Regions from separate parts of the Homo sapiens genome. Here region 1 is linked to region 2. The links are contacts of gene promoters, found by promoter capture Hi-C in blood cells and fetal thymus (Javierre and others, 2016). All regions are on one chromosome and are shown on one strand. Each heading gives the region's core, a stretch centred on a gene start or on the middle of the fragment in contact. The rest is flanking DNA. Distances are from core to core; before and after follow the strand shown. Region 1 overlaps ADAMDEC1 (ADAM like decysin 1). Region 2 holds the start of ADAM28 (ADAM metallopeptidase domain 28).

Evidence for each region. The method cuts DNA at HindIII sites, captures the fragments that hold promoters and counts their contacts. A CHiCAGO score of 5 or more calls a contact.
Region 1: a contact is called between a fragment that was not itself captured here and the fragment with the promoter of ADAM28 in region 2, in 1 of 17 cell types (total B cells). The highest score is 6.1, in total B cells.

The regions. Positions count from the first base shown.
Region 1 is chr8:24,400,363-24,406,032 of GRCh38, forward strand. ADAMDEC1 (ADAM like decysin 1) reads left to right here. Exons shown (of 14, transcript NM_014479.3): 12 at 1,553-1,730; 13 at 3,641-3,726; 14 at 4,930-5,651. The coding sequence ends at 4,936. All of the region lies in intron 1 of ADAM7-AS1 (ADAM7, ADAMDEC1 and ADAM28 antisense RNA 1), which reads right to left. Among named protein-coding and RNA genes, the nearest start is that of ADAMDEC1, 19 kb to the left of the region's middle. The HindIII fragment of the contact is 2,665 bases long and covers 3,024-5,670 here.
Region 2 is chr8:24,289,909-24,295,454 of GRCh38, forward strand. It overlaps ADAM28 (ADAM metallopeptidase domain 28), which reads left to right and starts at 4,161. Exons shown (of 23, transcript NM_014265.6): 1 at 4,161-4,287. The coding sequence starts at 4,242. The HindIII fragment of the contact is 10,253 bases long and covers 1-4,848 here.

The DNA.
Region 1 (5,670 bases), core at 3,106-5,605, 110 kb after region 2:
ACATATTATTCTCTATTGTTTAATTAAATATTAGATCTTGTGTTGTTCCAAAACAGATTTTAAAATTGTTTATAAAATACATACTAATCAACAGGATAGATTGAAAGTGTTACCCAAAAAACAATCTTAAAACGTGTAGGGTAACATATTACATTCTTAACCTAGTCTTGGATTACAGTAATCTGCTGATATATGTTTCATAAAGACATCAAAAGTGCTATTTTACAAGTAAATTATGTTTAGGGACACTTGCAATGAATGTTTCTTTTCATATATATATATATATATATTATACTTTAAGTTCTAGGGTACATGTGCACAACCTGCAGGTTTGTTACATATGTATACATGTGCCATGTTGGTGTGCTGCACCCATTAACTAGTCATTTAGCATTAGGTATATCTCCTAATGCTATCCCTCCCCCTCCCCCCACCCACAACAGGCCCCAGTGTGTGATGTTCCCCTTCCTGTGTCCAAGTGTTCTCATTGTTCAATTCCCACCTATGAGTAAGAAAATGCGGTGTTTGGTTTTTTGTCCTCACGATAGTTTGCTCAGATTGATGGTTTCCAGCTTCATCCATGTCCCTACAAAGGACATGAACTCATCATTTTTTTATGGCTGCATAGTATTCCATGGTGTATATATGCCACATTTTCTTAATCCAGTCTATCATTGTTGGACATTTGGGTTGGTTCCAAGTCTTTGCTATTATGAGTAGTTTTCCAAATCTTTAAGAATTCGGAAGCAGTCTACAGATGTTGAATGGACATATCTTTTCCCAAGGGTTGTGTATCCCATTAATTCAACTTCCAGTCTCTTGATGCACAAATTTTAAAAACTACCAGGGCTCATTCTTTAAGATTTCCAAATATGCCAAGATAGAGCTTGCACGTATGATGACCTTATAATTTTAACTTAAAATAATTCCAACTGAAAATGAACCCATAGTTTCTAAAAATATTAATCTCATTATGTTGATGACAGGATCTTCTTATATTCCCATCATCAATCAACCAATCAATCTGTTTTTGCATATTTATGAATTACCTGTGAATGCCAGGCACTTTGCAAAGACTTTGGGATAGAAAAATAAATAAAACATACTTTGTTCTTGAAATGCTCACAAAGAAGGAGAGAAATATTTCCATAAAGCCCAGAAGCCTGCAACTACTTCCCTTCACTGGTTCATTATTATTATCTCTTGCCCCTCAATTCTCAATGCAAAATGAGTGGATAATTACAAATGGTGATGGCTGTCACTGCTGTCCTTTAGAACAACATTAAATGGCCACATGGAAATTGAAATCCTTCCAGCTCTGTGACTTAGGCTCTAGGAAGAAAAATGTCCAAATACCATAGTATGCATGCTCTACCACCCACCACATTTAATACAGGGCAGTCCTAAATGGTTGCCAAATTTGGAATTTCCATTGAGCTCGGTAATACAGTTAGATAAATCAGAGTCTCGTGTTTCTTTATCTTTATTCTGTGTTTCACGCAGAAGGCACCACACTGTATATCATATTATTTGAGTTTTCTTCTGATTACAGTTCAAAATTCCCAAAGGATTTCAGTACATCTTGCCGTGCACATTTTGAAAGATACCTTTTATCTCAGAAACCAAAGTGCCTGCTGCAAGCACCTATTCCTACAAATATAATGACAACACCAGTGTGTGGGAACCACCTTCTAGAAGTGGGAGAAGACTGTGATTGTGGCTCTCCTAAGGTATTATTTATTAGAATTATTGGGGCAGAAGAATTATGCAGTTTTCTTTTTGTTTTCCAATATTCTTTTGGAAATTCTTTCTAAAGACAAACTTGGCATCGTAGTTAAAAAGGAGATTTGTGCTTGTGTTTTTGCTACTGAATTTAGTAATCCTTTGAAAGGCATTTCAAAAACTAGGACTTGATTTTGACATAATTATATGAAGTTAAATGTAAAAAAGTAAATTGTTAACTATAACATGTCACTTGCAATCTTTCCAAAACGTGTATTAGTCAGAAATCCCTAGACGACATAATGTCACAGTTGATCATCTGTTGAACAGTAACAATTAGAGATCTAGAAGTAAGTTCTACTCAGAGGGAGAGTTGGTCTTTTCTCATCAAGCCAGTGTATAAACCAGGTTGTAAACAGAGAAGAAAGAGGAAAAGAAAAAATAATCACAAAAATCTGTAGAAAATAGGCTATTAACATAGAACATCCAGAATAAGCACTATGATTCTGCTAATTTATATAAATTAGACTCCTTCAAGGCATTTATGTACTCTAAAGAATGCTGATCACTAGCAATCCCATTGCCTTCTAAAAGATATTCTGTTGCTCCACTGGTGAAGCAGGATGCAGTCCAAGAAGTATCCATTACTTAAGATGGCTCTGTGACAATGAACATGGCGTCTAAACTCTCTATGCTTCAGTTTATGTATTCAGAAATTTTAGCTGGTTAGATTAGATCAGAAGACTACACAGCCTAACTTAGTCATTTGTGAAGAATATTGTAAACTTTCTGTTAATTATAAAGAGGCATGGAATTTTACAAAAGATTTGACATTTTATAGCAAATTAGAGTTACGTTTATCTCGTTCTTACTTGCTTACATTCATCTATGGTTTCTTGGGTGGAAGACAATTGAAGATACTCAAAACCCTAGGTACTTCTGGTTTCAGCAAGTAAATGGTATGTATTTACAGAGAAGAAAGGGGGAAAGGATGAAGGAAGAGGCCAAGAGAGGACCATTGTATACACAATATGTAACATCTAAAATTCTTGAATTATGTCAGTCAACTCTTGTATTATTTTCATATCTTGTTGATTTTTTTCTTATGTAATTGAATAAAACCAGAGAGTTCAGGCTTAGGAACAACTGAATTTCTAAATAACTGTTTTCTTTTCCAAAAAGTAGTATGTATACTTCATACAGTATTGTTTATTGAGTAATCCAATTTCTCATAGATCTGATATCCCAGTTTATTATTCCTAGGTATATAGTTAGGGTTTTTTTTTTAGATTTTAAAAATAAGCTTTCTGTCTAGATATTTCTCCCAGGCATCACACTATTTTAAAGATTGTAACTTGACAATGCGTTTTAATGTCAAGTCTCTTCATTGTTTTGTCGTTACTGTTTTAGCTGCAAATTTGCCCTCAAATACCATTGAGATTTGATGGAAATGCATTAAATTTATATTTAACTTTGAAGGGCACTGATATTTTTACAATATTAAGTATTGTCTTAAAAGACAAGTTGCCTTTAAAGTTTCTCAGGAAATGTATATATAAAGTTCTTCATGGAGTTCCTGCACTTTTGAAAGGCTTTCTAAATTATTTTCATATTTTTCTTTCTGCTGTATGTTCAATTTTTTTTAGTTTGGACTTACACATCATACATCTAGACAAAATTTATTTTTGAAAAATTCTTGAATAATTCTATTTCTCACCTTTTGAGAAGTCTTCATTGCTGATAATATTTTGTTTTCTATTTTTCAATGTCCTTGGTCATTTTCACTGGAATTTGCCTATCAGAGTAATTTACCTTAAAAAGTAAACTTTCATTGCCATCTTGTGCCAGAATTCTATCACCTAGTCTATGGGAAGAAAATGTTGAACCCACCTTTTTCCATTGTGTGTGTGCTTTGAAGGAGTGTACCAATCTCTGCTGTGAAGCCCTAACGTGTAAACTGAAGCCTGGAACTGATTGCGGAGGAGATGCTCCAAACCATACCACGTAAGACCTTTTGTTTTCTTTGTTCCAAAACGTTTTCTCACGTTTATTTCAGATTTGAGAAAAATATGCCACTGGGTTCCATAATACACTAAAACACAATGTATTTTATATTTTTCAAACGACTCAATTTTGGAGAGGAAAACTAGCAATCATTATGAGCATGACTAAGGATTGTAGACAAACACTCATGAGAAAGTAGCTACTTTGACATTTGTGAGATTAGGGCTGCTGGAATCTATGCCAAAAACTGTTTAAATTCCCGTTAGAGAACGATGAGTTTAATACAAACCAAAATGAGAAAAGAAAAGTGTATTTAAAAACAGCCTCAGTTGATGAGCTCATTTTATTCTTGGTTAAAAGCTGATAGTTTTAATTTGCAAGGCTGTCAGAAAATCAATAGCATTTAAGAACATGCTATAAGATTTGACAATTTTACTCCCTTTAAAGTGTCTCAATGAGCCATAATTCAGGTAGTAGTTCTGTGTCTTATACAATCCTATGTGAGCTGGGCTAGGGAACCCAGTTACTTGGAAAATGGTACTTGTTTCAGTGAAAAATAACCTCTAAATATAAAATGGCAACAAGAAAAATAAAAAATAGGGGAAAGACTCAGGATACATTTTCTTTACTCCTCTTTCCCAATTCTTTTCTGGAATTGAAACTGCAGAGACAGTATAAAGAAAATAATTGACTCAAGCACCATCAATTATCATTTCATAGGGAATGGATAGGCAAGGTCAAAGATAAGGACCAACGCTTGTTTATTTACCAAACACCATTTAATACAGCCTACATGAATCATGGAATGAATCCACTCTGCAGGGAATTCTGGAAACTGTGCCCAGGCCAGAAACATAGCATCACAAAAGAAAAAAAATCATCCAGCTATTTAAGGGCTTGGAACCCTAGGTGAACATGCCCCTTACTGTGCAAGATAGGCAATTTATACCATGGAAGAAAATTGGAGGTGGACTCAGGAAACTAAAATTCTAGTCTTTTCTGTCAGAAACTAGCTGTGGGACTTTAAGTCCAGATAAATTAGTTTTTTTCACTCATGAAATACAGCTAATGGTATAGTCTCTTAAATAATATGAATTGTTATTCACATAATTTAAATTCTATACATTTTCATTATCATTATTACATAATATTTTGTAACTTGTAATAACCCTGGCTTCCAAATTTTATTTTTCCTTCAATCAGAGAGTGAATCCAAAAGTCTGCTTCACTGAGATGCTACCTTGCCAGGACAAGAACCAAGAACTCTAACTGTCCCAGGAATCTTGTGAATTTTCACCCATAATGGTCTTTCACTTGTCATTCTACTTTCTATATTGTTATCAGTCCAGGAAACAGGTAAACAGATGTAATTAGAGACATTGGCTCTTTGTTTAGGCCTAATCTTTCTTTTTACTTTTTTTTTTCTTTTTTCTTTTTTTTTAAAGATCATGAATTTGTGACTTAGTTCTGCCCTTTGGAGAACAAAAGAAAGCAGTCTTCCATCAAATCACCTTAAAATGCACGGCTAAACTATTCAGAGTTAACACTCCAGAATTGTTAAATTACAAGTACTATGCTTTAATGCTTCTTTCATCTTACTAGTATGGCCTATAAAAAAAATAATACCACTTGATGGGTGAAGGCTTTGGCAATAGAAAGAAGAATAGAATTCAGGTTTTATGTTATTCCTCTGTGTTCACTTCGCCTTGCTCTTGAAAGTGCAGTATTTTTCTACATCATGTCAAGAATGATTCAATGTAAATATTTTTCATTTTATCATGTATATCCTATACACACATCTCCTTCATCATCATATATGAAGTTTATTTTGAGAAGTCTACATTGCTTACATTTTAATTGAGCCAGCAAAGAAGGCTTAATGATTTATTGAACCATAATGTCAATAAAAACACAACTTTTGAGGCTTTTCTGTGTGGTCATTTT
Region 2 (5,546 bases), core at 2,911-5,410:
AGGAGGTACATATCCATCTGTTACATGGATATATTCCGTGATGCTGAGGTTTAGGGTACAAATAATCCTGCCACCCGGGTACTCAGCATAGTATCCAATAGCTAGGTTTTCAGCCTTTTCCCCTCTTCCCTCCCTTCTCCAGCAGTACCCAGTGTCTATTGTTGTCATCTTTATGTCCATGGGTACACAGCGTTTAGCTCCCATGTATAATTGAGAACATGCAGTATTTATAGATTTTGGATATTAGACTTTTGTCAGCTGTGCAGTTTGCTTATATTTTCGCCCGTTATGTAGGTTGTTGGTTTGCTCTGCTGATAGTTTCTTTTTGCTGTACAGAAGCTCTTTAATTTAATTAGGTCCCACTTGTCCATTTTTGTTTTCATTGCAATTGCTTTTGAGGACTTAAGTCATAAATTGTTTCCAGGGCCAATGTCCAGAATGTCATTTCCTAGGTTTTCCATAGTTTGAGGTCTGACATTTAAATCTTTAATCCATCTTGAGTTAATTTTTGTATATGGTGTAAGGTACCGGTTTTCTGTTTCTGCATTAATTCACTTAGGTTAATGGCCTCTAGGTGATCCATGTGCTGCAAAGAACACAATTTAATTCTTTTTTATAGCTGCATAGTATTCCAAGGTATATATGTACCACATTGTATTTATCCATTCCACCACTGATGGGCACCTAGCTTGATTCCATGTCATTGCTCTTGTGGATAGTACTGTGATGAACATAAGCATGTGTCTTCTCGGTAGAATAATTTATTTTCTTTTGGCTATATATCCAGTAAACGGATTGTTCGGTCAAATGACAGTTCTGTTTTAATTTCTTTGAGAAATCTCCAAACTGCTTTCCAGAGTGGCTGAACTAATTTACATTCCTACCAACATTGTGTGTTTCCTTTTCTCTGTGGCCTCACCAGCATTTGTTATTTTTTGACTTTTTAGTAATAGCCATTTTGGCTGGTGTGAGTTGGTACCTCATTGTTTTGATTTGCATTTCTCTGATAATTAGTTATGTTGGGCAATTTTTTCACATGTTTTTTTAACTGCTTGTATTTCTTCTTTTGAGAAGTGTCTGTTCATTTCTTTTGACCCTTTTTTTTTTTTTTTTTCTTTTTTTTTGAGACGGAGTCTTGCTCTGTCACCCAGGCTGGAGTGCAGTGGCGCAGTCTTGGTTCACTGCAACCTCCTCCTCCGGGTTCAAGTGATTCTCCTGCCTCAGCCTCCCAAGTAGCTGGGACTACAGGTGCCTACCACACGTGGCTAATTTTTGTATTTTTAATAGAGATGGGGTTTCACTATGTTGGCTAGACTAGTCTCGAACTCTTGACTTCAGGTGATCTGCCCACCTTGGCCTCCCAGAGTGCTAGGATTACAGGCATGAGCCACTGCACCCACCCTTTTGCCCATTTTTAAATGAGGTTACTTATCTCATGCTTGTTCAATTGTTTAAGTTCTTTATAGATTCTGGATATTAGACTTTTGTCAGCTGTGTAGTTTGCTCATATTTTCACCCGTTATGTAGGTTGTTGGTTTGCTCTGCTGATAGTTTCTTTTTGCTCTACAGAAGCTCTTTAATTTAATTAGGTCCCACTCATCCATTTTTGTTTTCATTGCAATTGCTTTTGAGGACTTAAGTTATAAATTGTTTCCTAGGGCCAATGTCCAGAATGTCATTTTCTAGGTTTTCCATAATTTGAGGTCTTACATTTAAATCTTTAATCCATCTTGAGTTAATTTTTGTATATGGTGTAAGGTAGGGGTCCAGTTTTATTCTTCTGCATATGGCTAGCCAGCTATCCCAGCACCATTTATGAAATAGGGAGTCCTTTTCCCAGGACTCCTGCCACCAGGATGCACTCCCTGCCCTGTTTGGTGTAGACCTCTGACTTCTATTGATAAATCTATTGTAACACTAAACACCTTGTGATATTGTGATCATTTATAGGTGGTACTCACTCTGTGCAATTTTATGGTAATTGAACTTATCTTTGTCAGATTGTGAACATCTCAATGAAAGTGATTGTGTTTTTTGTTTGTTTGTTTGTTTGAGACACTGTCTCGCTCTGTTGCCCAGGCTGGAGTGTGTTGTTGCAATCTCAGCTCGCTGCAGCCTCTGCCTCCTGGGTTCAAGCAATCAAGCAGTTCTCCTACCTCAGCCTCCTGAGTAACTGGGATTACAGGTGACCACCACCACACCCAGCTAATTTTTTTTTTTTAGTAGAGATGGGGTTTCACCATGTTGGGCAGGCTGGTCTCAAATTCTGATCTCAGGTAGTCTGTCTGCCTCAGCCTCCCAAAGTGCTGGGATTACAGACATGAGCCACCACTCCCGGCCATGATTGTGTTTTTTCAACTGCAATCTCAGTGTCTGACACATAATAGCTGTAAGTAAAATTACGTTGAATTAATGGAGAAAAAATATGTAATAATTAAAAGTTGAAGTATCCTTTCTGTTCCCTGGAAAAGACAAAGCAATGGAACTTGGGTTGAAAAGGCAAGAAATCTGTGAATCGCAATCCTGATGGTTAAAATGCTCAGTAACTAGACTCAAAAATTCCTTTGTGGTTTTAGTTGATGACTGTATAATCATTTGGAGACATCAATAATCACTGTAATCCCTCTAGTATGAGAATGTGTTTCAGAATCTGTAAAATGATGCATGATTTTAGTGGACTAGGACTAGGTTTTGTGGTAATAACTGGTCCTCAGCGTAATTTCTATTCCTTAGGAATTTCATAATTATTTCTATTCTCCCAGAATCTTTTCAATAGAAATGATACTGGGAGTACAAGTCAGCTAAGCCAAGGGAAAGCATTAGAGTATATGACTAAGAGCCCAGACAACACATAGTTCAGATTCCACTTCTACCACTTACTGGATAGGTGACTTTATCTGCTTAATCTTCTTAATCTATACAATGAGGGGACAACTGATTCTTAATCTTTTGAATTTTGCCTTTAAAACCCCAAATTTTCACCTGCAAAATGATTGTAAATGCATAATACATGAGTATCATAAAGACTAATAAAATAACAAGTACAGTAGATTTAGGAGAGTACCTGTATTAGTCCATTTTCATACTATCACGAAGAAATATCTGAGACTGGGTAAATTAAAAAGAGGTTTCATGGCCTCACAGTTTCACATGGCTGGGGAGGCCTCACTCTCATGGTAGAAGGTGAAGGAGGAGCAAAGACACATCTTACATGGAGGCAGGCAAAGAGAGCCTGAGCAGGGGAACTGCCCTTTATAAAATCATTAGATCTTATGAGACTTATTCACTATAATGAGAACAGCATGGGAAAAGCCCGCCCCTTGATTCAATTATCTCCCACTGGGTCCCTCCCACAACACATGGGGATTATGGGAGCTACAATTCAAGATGAGATTCAGGTAGGGACACAACCAAACCCTATCAGTACCTAAAACTTAATAAGCAGCTCAGTTGATATTAGTTATTTTATTGGTTATAAGTATGATTTTTAGACATGCCCAGTTTAGCCTTACTACCACCAGTGACAGATCCTAAAATTGTATCCTTTGGGTCTTGAATCCTTCTTCCACACTCCTCATTGCCAGTTATGACACAAATACCCCCAAGGATCTAAAAATTATTGTGCTTATATTGTCAGACATTCTTATTTCAGGATAGTTCAAACTTCCTGAGAGTACACTTGTGTGAGGAATAGAACATAAAATAATGGAAAAGAGAATGCTATATAGTAATTAGGTTGAATTAGAAATTGCTTTACATAACCACATTATGTATGTGGGGGAAAAATAACATTCTTAATAACTTTTTTCCTACAACTGTATATATATAAAAATATATTTAAACATATATTTATATATCATATCCGTAATGTAAATAAATGTCTAGCATGTTTTTCAAGACTCATTAATGCAGTTGCCTCTTTCCTTGTAGCTTATCTGGCTATAGTAATATGTTGGAAATGTACTACTTTGGAGTGGGGAGTATGGCAAAGGAGAGCAAAACAATAGTTCAGATCAAGTAATCTTAGAGCCAGGAGGCAGCCAGGACTTCCGCCTGCTGGGCCATTGTTGCAGGACCACAGCTTCGAGGTTGCGCAACACCTTTAGTAAACACTTCCTGAATCAGAGACAAGAATGAACCAGGGAGTTTCATTCTGTCTCACTGGAGAGGAGGCAGGGACAGACCCAGCAGCACCCACCTGAGCGAGAAGAGCAGACACCGTGCTCCTGGAATCACCCAGCATGTTGCAAGGTCTCCTGCCAGTCAGTCTCCTCCTCTCTGTTGCAGGTACATATTTAGCTCTTTTTCAGGTTCTATTGAATGCATTAGCGAACTTTTCATAGTCTCCTAATAGTTTTATTGTATAAACTATTTTGACTTTTTTCTTTTTCTTTTTTCTCAATCAATCTTACTAACCAGTTGGGCTGGTTTTAACCTGTTGTTTGGGGGCTGCGAGTGATACAAAGACAATGTTAAAAAGAGGCAACAAGAGGTCTTGAACCAATATGTATGCATCTCATCTGAGAATATACAGAAATAAAAGGGACAATTTCATACAGCACAATTTAAATCATGAATATGATTTTTGACTGAAAAAGTGGAATTCATCAAAACCCAGCTTGTCATTTAAAGAATGGTAAAGATGTGGCAGATTTATTTATTTATTACTGTGTACAAGGCTTAGGAAAATACCTACTATTATTATGGGAGCCAGTTTGGCTCTTTCTGTTTGAGTGTATATTTTTGTATTTACTCATTATTAGTAATAATACGTGTGACTAACTGGAAATAATTAATATTTTTTATTTATAAGGTACTGTGATATTACTTAACAAAATATCTCTGTTAAGCTTAAATTGATAATTTACTTCTATTTTGCTGATTATACCAAACATTTAAAAATTTGAAAGGAGAAAAATACTACTTCCTAACAGGAAATTATGTCTAGCAAGTCTCTCAATTTCTGGTAAATTCTCTAATTAGACTTTGGTTAAATTAGATTGGGTATTGTGATTCTTCAGCTTCTATTTCCAGAGCTTATTTAACTCAGCACATGAACTGCAGTGCCTCGAATTCCTCCCAGTAAACCTGTTCTTGGGTCTTAGAATGTTTGCTGGGACCTGGGGATGGGAACAGATTATCAACTAGAGGTATGGGCTTAGGGAGGGAAAAGTTTTCCTTGTCCATGCACCCTCTTAGTACTTTGTTGCTAAAAATGATTTTCCTGTGTCTCACCTGTTTCTGATTTGTTTTCAAGACTTATAAAAATTTCACTTAACCTAATATCTTTAAATATCGAATTATTTTCCTTTTGTTTCTGTGTATTTTTGCTTTATATAATATGTACCTATATCTGAACTGAACCTTTTCCCACTGTGCTGTGATCCTCTTCATCTCTAATGCCTTTTGCTTTGATACCTATTTTGTCTGATGTGAACGTGTTACACCAGCTTTCTTTTGGTAAAATAAGCCTGAAATATTAAAAATATATATAAAACTCATGCCAGGCATTTAACATTGACCTGAAATTCCTACTTTTTGAGGCA